Linked DNA regions of Homo sapiens: region 1 is linked to region 2. The links are contacts of gene promoters, found by promoter capture Hi-C in human tissues and cell types (Jung and others, 2019). All regions are on one chromosome and are shown on one strand. Each heading gives the region's core, a stretch centred on a gene start or on the middle of the fragment in contact. The rest is flanking DNA. Distances are from core to core; before and after follow the strand shown.

Evidence for each region. The method cuts DNA at HindIII sites, captures the fragments that hold promoters and counts their contacts. A contact is called where the count stands out against the background at its distance.
Region 1: a contact is called between a fragment that was not itself captured here and the fragment with the promoter of DDX47 in region 2, in 1 of the 25 tissues and cell types used here (dorsolateral prefrontal cortex).

What each region holds. Positions count from the first base shown.
Region 1 is chr12:14,053,786-14,060,637 of GRCh38, reverse strand. No RefSeq gene overlaps it. Among named protein-coding and RNA genes, the nearest start is that of GRIN2B, 76 kb to the right of the region's middle. The HindIII fragment of the contact is 3,729 bases long and covers 1,047-4,775 here.
Region 2 is chr12:12,811,731-12,818,727 of GRCh38, reverse strand. DDX47 (DEAD-box helicase 47) reads right to left here and starts at 5,382. Exons shown (of 12, transcript NM_016355.4): 1 at 5,274-5,382; 2 at 4,504-4,597. The coding sequence starts at 5,360. RefSeq lists an enhancer at 5,246-5,555. The HindIII fragment of the contact is 22,330 bases long and covers 2,615-6,997 here.

The DNA of each region.
Region 1 (6,852 bases), core at 1,662-4,161, 1.2 Mb before region 2:
GGGTTAAAAATTCTAGCTCCATCTTTACAAGCTGCATGGCTTCTGTAAGATGGAAACAATAACATCTACCTCACAAGGCTGTGAGAATTAAATGAGATCATTCTCACTAGAGTAGTTAACACAGTACCTGGAACATAAGTCTCCAGCAAATGTTAGCCTGAAAGGGAGCAGGGGATACACTCTATAAGATATTTTAAAAGTAAAATATGTTTCTATGATCAACTTTCCTCCACTCTCATTTACCCCCGAGCCTCCCAGCAGCTACTTAAGGTGTCCCCAGATTTCCTTGTCACACAGTTAAAATGACTGTGGATTACATTGTATTTCAAATAATCCAAGAACAGTACAGCAAGCTTAGGATCTGAAATTAACTTTGCCTTTATATTGTTCACGCTAGTTTCTCTTCAAGTACAATTATCATCAGAAAGCTGCCACTAAAAATAGTACTGATTCTCATTTTTCTCTCAGTGTTATCTGCTGCCATAGTATTTCCTAGGCATGTTTATTTACTTGATTCACAGTAGTGAATCTTTTCTCTTATTAGCCTGCCAGCAACAAGCGGATCCCACAGCAATGCTCAGTTCAGGTACAGTCTTTATTCCTCGGGAAGCACAGGAGGGCTGTGTCGCCATTTCTCCTTGAGAAACTCAGTGGAAGTGTTGGTCATGGCAGGAGCTGTGTGGACAATTTTGATGTGAAAGAAAGAGAAGATCAAAGTAGAACCTTCGCTTTGATAGTTTCAGAACTTTTCTCCCTCTGGGGAGAATGACAATTTAGCCTTCAGATTTCCTCTTGTTCCCTTTTCACTGCTCATATGTGCTTTGTGTGCAAGTGTGAATTTAATGGTAGTCAGAGAAGCTGATTGACAGCTCCCTGCATGTCTCACCCCCCCTCTGATGACTCTTGCTCACAATTTGGCAGTAAACTGTCTGAGTAATATGAGAGCTCTGTTTCTATCTTTCTCATTAGGTGCTAAGATGTTGGCCAGTGATACGGTTAGGCTTTGTGTCCCCACCCAAATCTCATCTTGAATTGTAATTCCTATAATCCCCATAATCCCCATGTGTCAAGGGAGTGACCAGGTGGAAGTAATTGAATCATGGGGTTGGCTTCCGCCGTGCTGTTCTCCTGATAATAAGTGAGTTATCACAAGATCTGTTGGTTTTATAAGGGGCTCTTTCTCCTTTGCTCAGCACTTCTCCTTCCTGCTGCTTTGTGCAGAAGGTGCCTTGCTCCCCCTTTGCCTTCCGTCATGAATGTAAGTTTCCTGAGGCCTTCCCAGCCATGCAGAACTGTGAGTCAATTAAACCTCTTTCCTTTATAAATTACCTAATCTCCTTTATGTCCTTATAGCAGTGAGAACAGACTAATATAGCCAGTAAGTTAGAACAAAATGCCATAACACTGAAAGCATTTTATCCTGGGGTATTCCCTCCTACCCCCCTGCCAATGTCTCTGACTTGTCCGTCACAAACCTAAGGAGTTAGCATTAGATAATTTGGGGCCTTCTTTGGGTAAAAATAAATTGCTGTTAATTCTAGAATTATTCAATTCTTTTCCTCTCCTCTCCAACACTTCTCCTCCTTTAAAAAAAAAAAAAGAAAGCAATTCATCCAACCCTGAGAAAAAGCAACAGGCAGTCTGAGGACACAGCTCTGTAATCTGTGAGCTCCAAGTGTTGGCTGTGAGTCTAGGAGATTTGCAGCCAAGGCTGCCAGTGAAGTAGCATCTGAAGCAAGCTTAGGAGAGACAGTGTGTCGGGGGAGGGAGGGGGTGGCCTAGGAAGGTGGGAAGGAAGGAATAGAAAGTGAGCAAATTGAAACAGGAATGGAAGCAAAAAAAAAAAAAAAGAACCAACCTAACCAAGCAATTTTATATTACAACTCCTTCAGTCTTGGGAAATAACCATGTGATGTGACTGGCCCTGCAGCTAGAGGCAATGTGAGAGACTAAAATGTTCTAGCCCTGGCTCTGACAATCACTAACTGTGAGATCCCCAGCAACCCTTAGGGGTCTTCTTACCACCTGTGTTGAATGGAGGATATGTAAGCTGCCCAAGCCATCTAGGGTTGATAGATGCTGAGGTCATATAACACTTTATGAAACCACTTTGAAAACCGAAAAGTCTAGTTCCAAATGTAATGTATTATCAGTTCTCTTCCAGAGAACATGTATCCAACATGCCTCAAGCTTCTGTTTCTTCCCTTCCTCAGAAAAAACAATGCTTACTTTAAGCCATCTTAGGCTCTGTCCAGAATCTTCCATTGTCAAGTCATACACCATGTTGTTTTTCTTAGCAAAGAAGTGAAGGCATGGACCCTGCTCTGCTGCTAATTCCCAAAGATAAGGATGGTGTCAGGTATTTTGTATTGTCTTGCTACTGGGCAGGCTTTTCCACTAATAAGATGAGCAACTGGAGATCACTGTCCAGTTGGCCAACCTCCGATATTGCATGCGGGATAGTCAACCTTTTCCACCATGCATAGTGAGGGGGTATCAGTTTGCAAGGACACGGCTAGCATGCTGGGAGCTCTGTGGTTCCCAGACGCCTCCAAGTGGCTTAGATTGGAGCTATAATTAAAACCATTCCTTGCAGTTTGAGGAGAGAGTGGGAATCTTCAGCCTCTGTAATCACCGGGTCATAACCAGACTGTGTTACTGTCAAATGTTTGGGAAGTCCATCATTTTTATCTCGGAGCTTGCTAAGACCCCGGGGCTAAAGTTTCACATAGATCTTATTCAGACTGAGGATCAGGACAGGGATTTTTTAATAATCCTTTTTGGTCTGAATACTTGGGCAGGATTTGGGGAAGTCCTGTAACGTCCTGGGAGTTTCTGTTCTCTATGACATGCTGGGAAAGAGAAATACAGCACCTCAGACACCCACCTTTTTCACCAATCATGGCAGGAGAATGTTTTCTGCATCAAAATCACTTAAACGGTGATAGACTTCCCTCTAAACTCTTCATTCGCTCATGTAACGTTAATTTATTGAGTGTGTGTTATGTGAGTAGCACCACAAAAACTGCAAATATTCATTAAGAATCTAGGAGGGGCTGGGTGTTGTGGCTTAATACTAGCACTTTGGGAGGCCAAGGCAGGCAAATCATTTGAAGTCAGGAATTTGAGACCAGCCTGGCCAACATGGTGATATCCTGTCTCTACTTAAAATAAAAATACAAAAATTAGCCTGGTGTGGTCATGTGCACCTGTAGTCCCAGCTACTCGGGAGGCTGATGTGGGAGAATTGCTTGAGCATGGGAGGTGGAGGTTGCAGTGAGCCACTGCACTCCAGCCTGGGTGACAGAGTGAGACTCTGTCTCTAAATTCTCTTAATAGATTTTCATTGTTGTACCTGAGACATATGAGATATTTATGTAAAAACTATGGTACAGAACATCTCTCAGTGCCAAATGAGTGGCAGAGAAAATAGCATGCAGACTAGACTGGTCTAGGACAAGTTCACAGAGGAGAGGGGACTTAAATTGGGCTTTGAATGAATATTAATAGGATTTAGAAGGCATGGAGAAGGTAAAGAACAGGTGCATGGGATGCCTAGCAGGAGCAAAGGTTGCACAGAGGCAAAGCTTGCACAGAGTTAAGACTGAATCAAGAGCAGAATGCTGGGTCCGTGAGTGGTTAAGAATATGCATTTTGGTGTCAGTCTGCTACCTACTCTCTGTGTGACCTTGGAAAAGTCATTGATCACCTCTTGGCTTCATTTTTCTCATTTATAAAATGAAGGTGACAGTTCTTGCCTTAAGAGGCAGTCATGAGAAGTAAATGAAATAATGCATAAAGTGTTTAGCACAGTGCCTAATTGCTAATAGTAAGCAATTATTAGCAATATTGATAATACTAGTTGAAATGTGGAGTTAATCTTTTCCCTGGGGAAAGTGGGGGAGCTACTGTGAAGACTTTTGTGCAGGAATGCGACAAAATCAGATCAATCTTTTTGTAAGCTGAATGACATAATGGTATAAAGAAGTTGTGGAGAGAGAAGACGCTAGATGTGGGAAGTCCAATTGGAAAACCATTTTAACCATTCAGCTGCGAAGATAATGACCTTGATCATGACGGAGGCAAGGAAGAGATGGAAAGAAAAGACATTTATGTCAATTTTCATGATCGGATGTAGGGAGTAAGAGAGTGGAAAGTTCCCATGATCAGAGTGTAAGCTTCTGAGGATGGAAGCCTGTATTTTAATTCTCTTCATCCCCAGTGCTTAGCACATTGCCTGGTACTGTATACTGTAGCCATCAGTAAATGTTTCTGAGTGAAAGTGTAAGTAAAGGAGTGAGTGAATAAATGAAAGAAAAATGATTCACAGGTCATGAGCATAGGTTGTTGAAAGAATGGCAGTTTCCACTGACCAAATTTAACCCTTTCTTGGAATGTTTTTGGTATCTATGTAGTCTTTATCCATCATATAATGTACAAAAATGTACATATTACACAATATACACAGGGTTCTATTATCAGTATGTAATTGCTCATTTTAAAAGAAATGGTTTTAACTTTAATGAAAGTGCTAAAGGGACAGTTTTTGTCTAGAAATTTTTGTTTGATTTTTTTAACTTGAATAGAGATGTTATATATGAAATGTGGTCTCTTTGGGATTACTAAAACTAAAAATGATACATGTTTTAGTTCAATTTTAGGAAACTTCTTTTAAACTTCAGGATTGGTAGAATGGGATTAAAAACATTTCCACTTTTATATTTGTATAATTATTTCCCTTTTCTCCCTTTTTCCATTTAACAAGGAGTTGAAGTAAATCGATGGTTTATGTAAATCGTAACTTTTTCAGAAAACTCAACATTTTGGTTTCTGAAAATGGAGGAAAAAGTTCTAATATGATCAGAATCAGGGACTTTGCTCTTATCCAAAGGTGAATATTTGCTGTCAATCTGTGGGTTGCAGCTTGAAACTGTTTACTAAAAGACCCCAACTTCTTTAATATTTAAATTTACTCAAATGCCTTGTTTATATTTTTTAAAGAGCCAAAAAGAGACCCAAGCACATTAACATCTGGCAATGAGGCACTTAATTTTATTCTAACTCATCCTTTGCAAATATTACCATGACATTGTAAAGTTCTCTAATTCTCATTTGCTGGACATTTACTAAGATAATTTTTCTTTTTTAGTAACAAAACCAAATCAATTCCCAGACTTCTCCTGAATGAAATAGGTGGAATTTAGCTGTGGACTGTGTGAGCTCTTATTGAAAACAAGATGCCCTCAGGAGCTATTTCACAGCATTCACCTTTCCATGTGCAAATAGAATAGAAAATGACTTTGTTACCTGCAGTCTTTTTGCTGGGTCCTGAATTGTGGTAATTATGTAAGATTCCTGCTTTTAAAAGTAAGCTTTCTTATACAAAATTAGAATATTACAGTTATATGTAGAGGAGTATAGATTTTTGATGTCACAGAAAACAAGGTTGTATAATGGCCACACCTCCCTTGGTAGGCAGTGGGGAAAAGACCTTGTACACAGTGCCACAGACCACCGTGTGCCCTGTTTCCTGAGAAATCAACTATAGGTATCATCATTTACACGCAACGTCACCAACAGGTGGATGTGAAGAGCACAGAGTTCTGATAGTCATCTTTCTGTTATTACTTGTCTCCGTCCCAGTGGCCATAGCTACTTAGTCTAAGAATAGACAACTAGTACAAGTTGGGCAATCGATGTTTCCCCGTGGTAAATACAGAATATTGAATGGAGACCCAGAAACTGAAATCTTTGAGAAGTGAGTCTGCTTTATGGTAGTGTTTTGGGAGGAAATCTATCACCACTGTGAGGTCCTAGAGCTATGCTGGTCCTGCTCTTCCTAAAGAGTAGGTGTGTTTGACTCCTCATTAGATTCTGTCACATATTCTAATATTCCTCCAATAAACCCTGCTTCCATGTGTCTATATGATAAGAGTGTGGAGCAGTAGGGACGGGAAGAGCTTTTATCAGTTAAATCATTACTGACAGAGATTTACTTTTATTTGATGTTAGCAGTGATTTGGGCAGCAGATGAAACAATGAAGAACCATGAGATGCCAACTTTTTTGATCTCCTCATAAAATGAGATTATCTTCCTGGACAGCTGCTCCCTTCTGACTCCTGAACAGGAGAAGAGCAGAGGCCACTGTCCCCTGAGGAGTCCTTAGGGGTTAGCCATGGGCTTCCATTCGGCCAAAGATAGGTTGGAAGAATATCAGAATATGTGACACAGTCTAATGAGGAGTCGAACACCCGCTCTTAAGGAAGGGCAGGGACCAGCATAGCTCTGGAACCTCAGGGTAGTGATAGATTTCCTTCCAGAACACTACCATTCAACAGACTCAGTTCTCAAAGGTTTTAGTTTCTGGGCCTCCAGTCAATATTTCATATTTACCTTAGAGAGATGTTGATTGCCCAACTTGTACTAGGTATCTATTTTTGGACTAAGTAGCTATGGCCACTGGGACAGAGACGAGTAAAGATGGCTCCCAGAAATCACCTCTGTGGAGAGATTGAGCCATTCTGTGAGATAGTAATATAATAAGTTTATGTTACTAGGTCCCTGTTGCTCTGCAAAAAGCCTGGGGAACTGAGATAAAATTCCTCAAAATTGCAGGAAAACTCATTAATCTAAGGGGCATTGAAGATGGCTTCAGAACTTTGGGGAATCTCTACATCCACAAAATGATGGACTATGGAATTGCTCATTACTAGTGTATCAGTTATGTATTGCTGCATAACAAATACCCTCAAAACTTAGTAGCTTAAAACAACTGTTGTTACTTGCTGTTATTGCTATTTGCTCATCATTCTATGGGATGAGCTTAGCTGGACAGTTCTTCTACTGGTGTA
Region 2 (6,997 bases), core at 4,133-6,632:
ACTGTAAGTCCAATTAAACCTCTTTTTCTTCCCAGTCTCGGGTGTGTCTGTATCAGCAGTGTGAAAAAGGACTAACATACAGTGTATCCTAGTGAATTCTATTCTTTAGCCTTCTTTTCATTAACATCAGTGTTTTCCATTCAAAAGCATATGCACAGATGTGAAATACAAGTCAAACCAGACAATGGGACTGATTTTTTTTTTTTTTAGACAGAGTCTTGCTCTGTCACCCAGGCTGGGGTGCAGTGGCGAGATCTCGGCTCACTGCAAGCTCCGCCTCCTGGGTTCATGCCATTCCCCTGCCTCAGCCTCCCGAGTAGCTGGGACTACAGGTGCCCGTCACCACGCCCTGCTAATTTTTTGTATTTTTAGTAGAGACGGGGTTTCACCGTGTTAGCTGGGATGGTCTCGATCTCCTGACCTCGTGATCCACCCGCCTCGGCCTCCCAAAATGCTAGGATTACAGGCGTGAGCCACCACGCCCAGCCAATGGACTGATTTTTTTAAAGATTACAGACAAATGACAATCCAGGGATAAAATGTCTCACTCATCTACTTATTTTAATGTTCCCAGTGGCAGGGTAGGTAACAATGAATTGCAACAGCATCTACCTATCTGAGAAATAAAGGTCAGTGCAAGCAAATGATTCCCAAAGCTTTTTATTCCTCAACTCCTTGGGGATACTGCCGTCCCAGCCTGTGTAACACAATACACCTTCGGGAACAGCAGGCGGGGGAACTAGGATTTGTCCTTTTTTTGTCAAGGGAAATCTTAACATTTCAGAAGAAAGGAGTACATAAGAAAGATTTAGGGAAGTAAAGGAGCTGAAGTCGCTTAGTTCATGAAGCAATAAGCACTGCTCACTGCCTACAGCTGAGGCCTGCACTGCTTTCAGTTTTTTAGTAAGTCCCTCACAGCAACCCTCAGTTTGTGAAACTGATATATTTTTCTACGTCATCTCCTTTCTTCATCTCTGAAGAAACCGCTAAGCCTTTTCAGTGTTTATACCTGTAGAGAATATACCAGAATGCATAAACTCCATAAGAGCAGAATAGATTTTGTCATATAGACCTGCCACATTGCTGGCACCGAACATAAGCGCTTGCTATATGGCAGCCACTAATAAATTGTTTGAAATTCCTTGAGGACAACTTTAAGTGATCTCTGAAACAGACATAAATAGATGGTGTCTCAATGTGTTACCCAGGCAGGTCTCAAACTCCTGGTCTCAAGCAATCCTCCCACCTCAGCCTCCCAAAGTCCTCGGATTACAAGCATGAACCACCATGCCCATCAAACAACTTTTGATCTCTTGATAGTAACAAACTTTGATGCAGGTCCATTAATAGAGGTTTTTTGAGCTATAAGATTCTATGTTCAAATTCAGGCTCTAGCAATAATTAGTTAGGTGACCTTAGCCAAAGGACTTAACTCCCTGAGTCTCAATTTCCTCACTAATAAAATAATTATCCGTAACTACCATTCAGCATTGTTATAAGGTTTAAGAACAGCGGACAATCTGGGCTCAGTAACTTTGCAGAAACTGAAAACGTCAGTAGTCCCAAATTCAAATTTAGAAGTTATTTTCACCGAATAACAACAGCAACAAAAACAAACAGATTATTTGAATCATTTCTATAGATTCAAATGAAGCATTTATAAACTATTCATTAGAATGAGACAAACCCAAGAATAAGGATAAAGACATTTCTATGGTGATCATTTCTGTCAGTTCCTAGTAATCTTCCACTGACCCCTCCCTATTCTTTTCTGCATCAAATTTAAACTTATGGCTGAAAACATCAGAATAATTTTAGGATTACTGCCAGCTATTTTGACTCCTTCTCACCTACACTGTAGGGCAAGCTGGAAAAGTTAAAATGCATGAACGCTTCTTGCTATTTAAAAGTAACACTGGGCCGCTGATAGTTCTTTCCCACCACTGGCCTTTATACGGTCCTTATCCTCCAAACTTCTCTGCACAAGTTTGAAGTGTTTACTAATCCCTCCTTGAAACAGTTTCCCTTCCCTAATTTGTGTGAAACTATACTCTCATGATTTTCAACCCTCTATTGAATCTTCCAATTTTCCTCTGTCATCTTTGCCAATCTAATCCATTTCCAATCTCAGCTATAACCGCTCTTTGGATACAGTGTGTATATCCAGCTCTGGCCTCTCAATCAAGTTCCAATCCCAGGATTCCAACTGGGTATTTTTTTCCTTTTTTATTGTCCCCCAGTTTTGTTAATTGACAAAAAATTATACTTATGGTATACAATGCAAAGTTTAGATACATGTATACTTTGTGAAGTGATTAAATCAAGCTCATTAACATATCTGTCACCTCACATACTTGTCATTTTTGTGGGGAGACCATTTAAGATCCACTCTCCTAGCAATTTTCAAATACACAAAACATTATTCACTGTAGTCACCATGCTATTCAATAGATCTTCAGAACTTATCCATCCTGGCTAACTGAAACCGTACCCTGAGCAACATTTCCCCATTCCCCTCCCACAAGGTCAACTCTATCTCATTGATATCCAAAATCAATTACTTCCAACTGAACTCATCTTTCCTGCATTTTTCCCCCGTTCCTTTTTTGTATCAGTGGTACACCAATAATATGCCCTAAACATACAGCCTAGAAACTTAGATTTTCCCCACCCCTTCCTTGCCTTCCACTTGCTTAACTGGTTGTAAAATCATAATGATTCTTTTTCCAACATTTTCTTTTTCATTCTACCACCACCCTACCCATTATTGATTGCAAAAATCATTACAAAGACCTACTAATTGGTTTCCCAGACTCAGTCTCTTGTTTCTAATGATCTTTCACAGCTATGAGATTAATCTTCCAAGAGTACAACTCTAAATCCTTCATCTCCAAAAATGCCCCACTGCCTATGAAACGAAGACCAAATTCCTTGACCCAGCACTCAAATCCTTCATAATCCGGCCCCAATCACCTTACTAAACTTTTTCACCACTCTGCTAAGTACTTGCAAATCTCCATACATGCCCATGTTTTCCAGTTGGCTTTTTTTCATGCTGTTCCCTATGCCTAGAAAGTCCTCCCCTCCCATCATATCTGAATGTCTAAATCCTTCTAAAGTCAGTGTTCAAGGTTCAGCTCACATGTCTTCCCAACCTCCCCAGCCAAAAATAAAATGAAATAAATCTTCTCTAATCCATCCTAATTAGAAGTAATCTCTTCTCCCTCAGTGCACTCTGAATGTAACTTTCTTAGGTCCCTGTTCAACTTGTAATAAATTTATAATTATCTCTTTAATAGATTATAGACTCTTGGAGAGGACAGACTGTTAACCTCCAGTGCCTTACATTTACAACAAATAGTAACTATTTATGGAAAGAGCAAATGGAATTTTGTAGAGTAAGTCTAACCCCTTTTCCACATGACAGCTCTTCAAATCATTAAATCTTTCAATTATTATCAATAATAATCACTACATTAATTACTAATGAGTAATAATTATAGCTTACATTAATCACTAATAATATAGTAATACAGTAATAGCTACATTAATACTAACAATAATTAGCCACATTACCCCTCTTATAACAATTGCTATGATTACATTCACTCTCTCTGAGGATCTTAATAGATTTCAGTTAACTAAGACCTCTGGGCCTCTTTTATCACCCACCCTAATCCTGTAAAGTTGGTACTTTAGGAATCTAAGAGCAGGACTTTACTTCTACTCCTATTAAAGTTCATCCTGTTACAGCCAGATGTGGTGGCTCACACCTGTAATCCCAGCACTTTGGGAGGCCAAGGCAGGTAGATCACTTGAGGTCAGGAGTTCGAGACCAGCCTGGCCAACATGCTGAAACCCCATCTCTACTAAAAATACAAAATTAGCCGGACATGGTGATGCGCCTGTAATCCATTACTTGGGAGGCTGAGGCGGGAGAGTTGCTTGAACCTGGAAGGCAGAGGTTGCAGTGAGCCAAGACCGCACCACTGCACTCCAGCCTGGGCGACAGAGCGAAACTCTATCTCAAAAAAAACTCCATCTTAAAAAAAAGATCTCAAAAAGAAAAAAGTTCATCCCATTAGTTTCAGTTCCAGTAGCCATCAATCTGCTTTAACCACTGTTTTACAAATCTGATAAACATGGCTCACAGCAAGAATTCTCAACTCCTCAAGACACACATATGTGTTCCAGGCATCCTTCCCTAAGTGTGCGCCCACTGATGCATAAAGTCTACCAAGATTGTCGTTAATATACTTTAACTTTAACCTAGGGCTTCCTTAAAGTCAGCATCTGTGGCAGAGAACAAACCCTTTCAGCTATTAAGACAGAAAGTAAGCTCAGTAAAATTGGAGAATGACATTTTCAAATACCATTACCCAAACTTTGTACCTTTAGTGACCATATCCTTATTTCACTTGAAGTATGCAAGCAACAGCTTTCAAAAGGGGTATCTAATTGAGATAACTTTATATTAAATCTGTACGAAGTCATACAACCTACCTTGTAAGGCCAAAGGAATAGCTTCAATCTGGATCTTGGTGGGTTTTGTCCATCCCAACTGGTCACAAGCTTCACACAACACATCTGTCACACCCTTGGAATTCAGAAAAATATACCTTAGCCAAGAACAGCACACCCCTACCTCCCTCCTACTTAACTGACTGTCAGACCCATCATGTACAACCATTGTATTTGATTTAAAAGGTATTTACTGTGCATCTCAGAGCCTACTCTTTAACTATACCATGAGACAGTAGCTCAAGACTTAACGAACACTTTCTGCTCACCAAGGCCAAGGCCAGGTGCTTTACATGTATCATCTCATTTAATCGTCACAACAATTCTGCGAGGTAAGTACTTATTACTATCCCCAATTTACAGATGTGGAAAGAGAAACACAGAGAGGTAACAACTTGTCCTCAGTAAGAGACTGTGTCAAAATTCAAATCTGGTTGGTTCATCTGACTCCAAAGCTCCAGTTATAAAGAGACCAATTCCATTCCCCATATGTACAACCTCCTGGATGCACATACAAACGTTGCCACACTAAAGTGGCGAATAGGGCAAATAGGGGGTCTCAGGGCCCAGCAGCCCTCCCACCACCCAAACTCAGAGCACGTCCGAAACCCAGCCCTCTGAAATTCTGGGGAAAACCCAAGCTAGGCCCCAAGATGCTTTTGTACACTATCAGAGCGGGATCTAAGGTACCTGGGGTCTCCCTGAGCCTAGCACCAGAGTACATAAAAGAAGCCAGCGTCATCCATTCTCACCAGGTCTTTAAATGTTTTAGTTTCCTCCTCTTCCACAATCGGCTGGGACGCTTCGGTCGGAGAATCGTGTTCCTCGGGTGCCGCCATCTTGTGTGAGGTCTCCGGAAGTGGGTCTGCGGCGCGCGGGATGCTGGGAAATGTAGTTTTAGTTCTCCCCGGACGACGTGCTCTGCGCGCCCCCTGCGGGCTTGCCGGGGATTGCACCCGTCCGCTAGGCAGGTGGGGCCCAGTGAATATGGGCGCGTAGGCTTGCGGAATAGATCCGAGTGCAGAAGGGGCTGATCACCAGGGACTCCAGTTGACCTTTAGGTCCCTTTTAAAGAGCCTTCCCTACGTGTGTCGCCAGTTATGTTCCCCGCTTTTCTAACCATAGAGTTTGGAACGGATTGATATTACAATACTATTTTTTTATTATGTCATTACTTTATTCAATAATGTTGAGAACCTACCATTTGCTAAGGCTATGCTAGATGGCTGGTGAATAGGACAGCGACCCCTGCCCTCGTGAAGAAAAAGAAGACAGATCATAAATAAGCTATCACAGAGCATTTCAAATTGTGAAAAGTAGCTGGGTGTGCTCACGCCTGTAACCCCAGCACTGTGGGAGGACGAGGCGGGCGGATCACTTGAGCCCAGGAGTTCGAGACCAGCCTGGGCAACGTGGCGAAACCCTGTGTCTGCAAAATGCAAAAATCAGTCAGGCATGCATGGTGGCATGCGCCTGTAATCCCAGCTATTCAGGGGGCTGAGGTTGAGGGATCAGTTGACCCCGGAAGTTGAGGCTGCAGTGAGTGGAGATGGTGCTACTGTACTCCAGCCTGGGCAACAGAGTGAAACCCTGTTCACATAAAAATTACAGAGTAACCTGGGGAGGGTGGGTTGTGGGGATAACTGTGAGATTGGGAAGGCCTCTCTGAGACAGTGATATTTGAGTTAAGACCTCACTGTTGAGCAGGAGAAAACGCTTTAAGATCCCAGGAGATAATCATTCCAGAGTGAGAGAATTCCAAGTACCAAGACTGTGAAGCTACTAAGGCTATTCTGGAAAGCAGCAAATTCAGAGCTGTATGTTGCATGCCCCATGGCCAGCGAGTGCCCTCCTGTGGCCTGTCACTTGGGTCTCACACTGCGCAGGGTGCTCGTTGCAGTTTTATTCCTGAGGATGGGAAGTTGGGGGCAATCTGGTGTCCGTCACTGGGAAAATGCATAGTTAAAATGTGAACATGGTGTCTACAAACATGCCCTTAACAATATGATTAGATCTGAAAAACCTAGTGCTTAGTGAGAAAAGCATAAAATATATCAAGTATATTAAAATATAGGCCCACAGATATCACATTCTGCTAAAACACATCCAACAGAAGATACACTTGAAATATTTTAGAATGGTTGCCTGCAGAGGGAGAAGAATTAGAATAAAACTGGGAATTGGGAATAAAAGAATTAAGTGTATAAGACAATAGGCCGGCCGCGGTGGCTCACACCTGTATCTTAGCACTTTGGGAGGCCAAGGCAGATGGATCACTTGAAGTCAAGAGTTCGAGACCAGCCTGGTCAACATAGTGAAATCCAGTCTCTACTAAAAACACAAAAATTAGCCAGGCATGGTGGCCTGTGCCTGTAATCCCAGCTACTCGGGGGGCTGGGGCAGGAGAATTGCTTGAACCCCGGAGGCGGAGGTTGCAGTGAGCTGAGATCATGCCATTGCACTCCAGCCTGAGTGA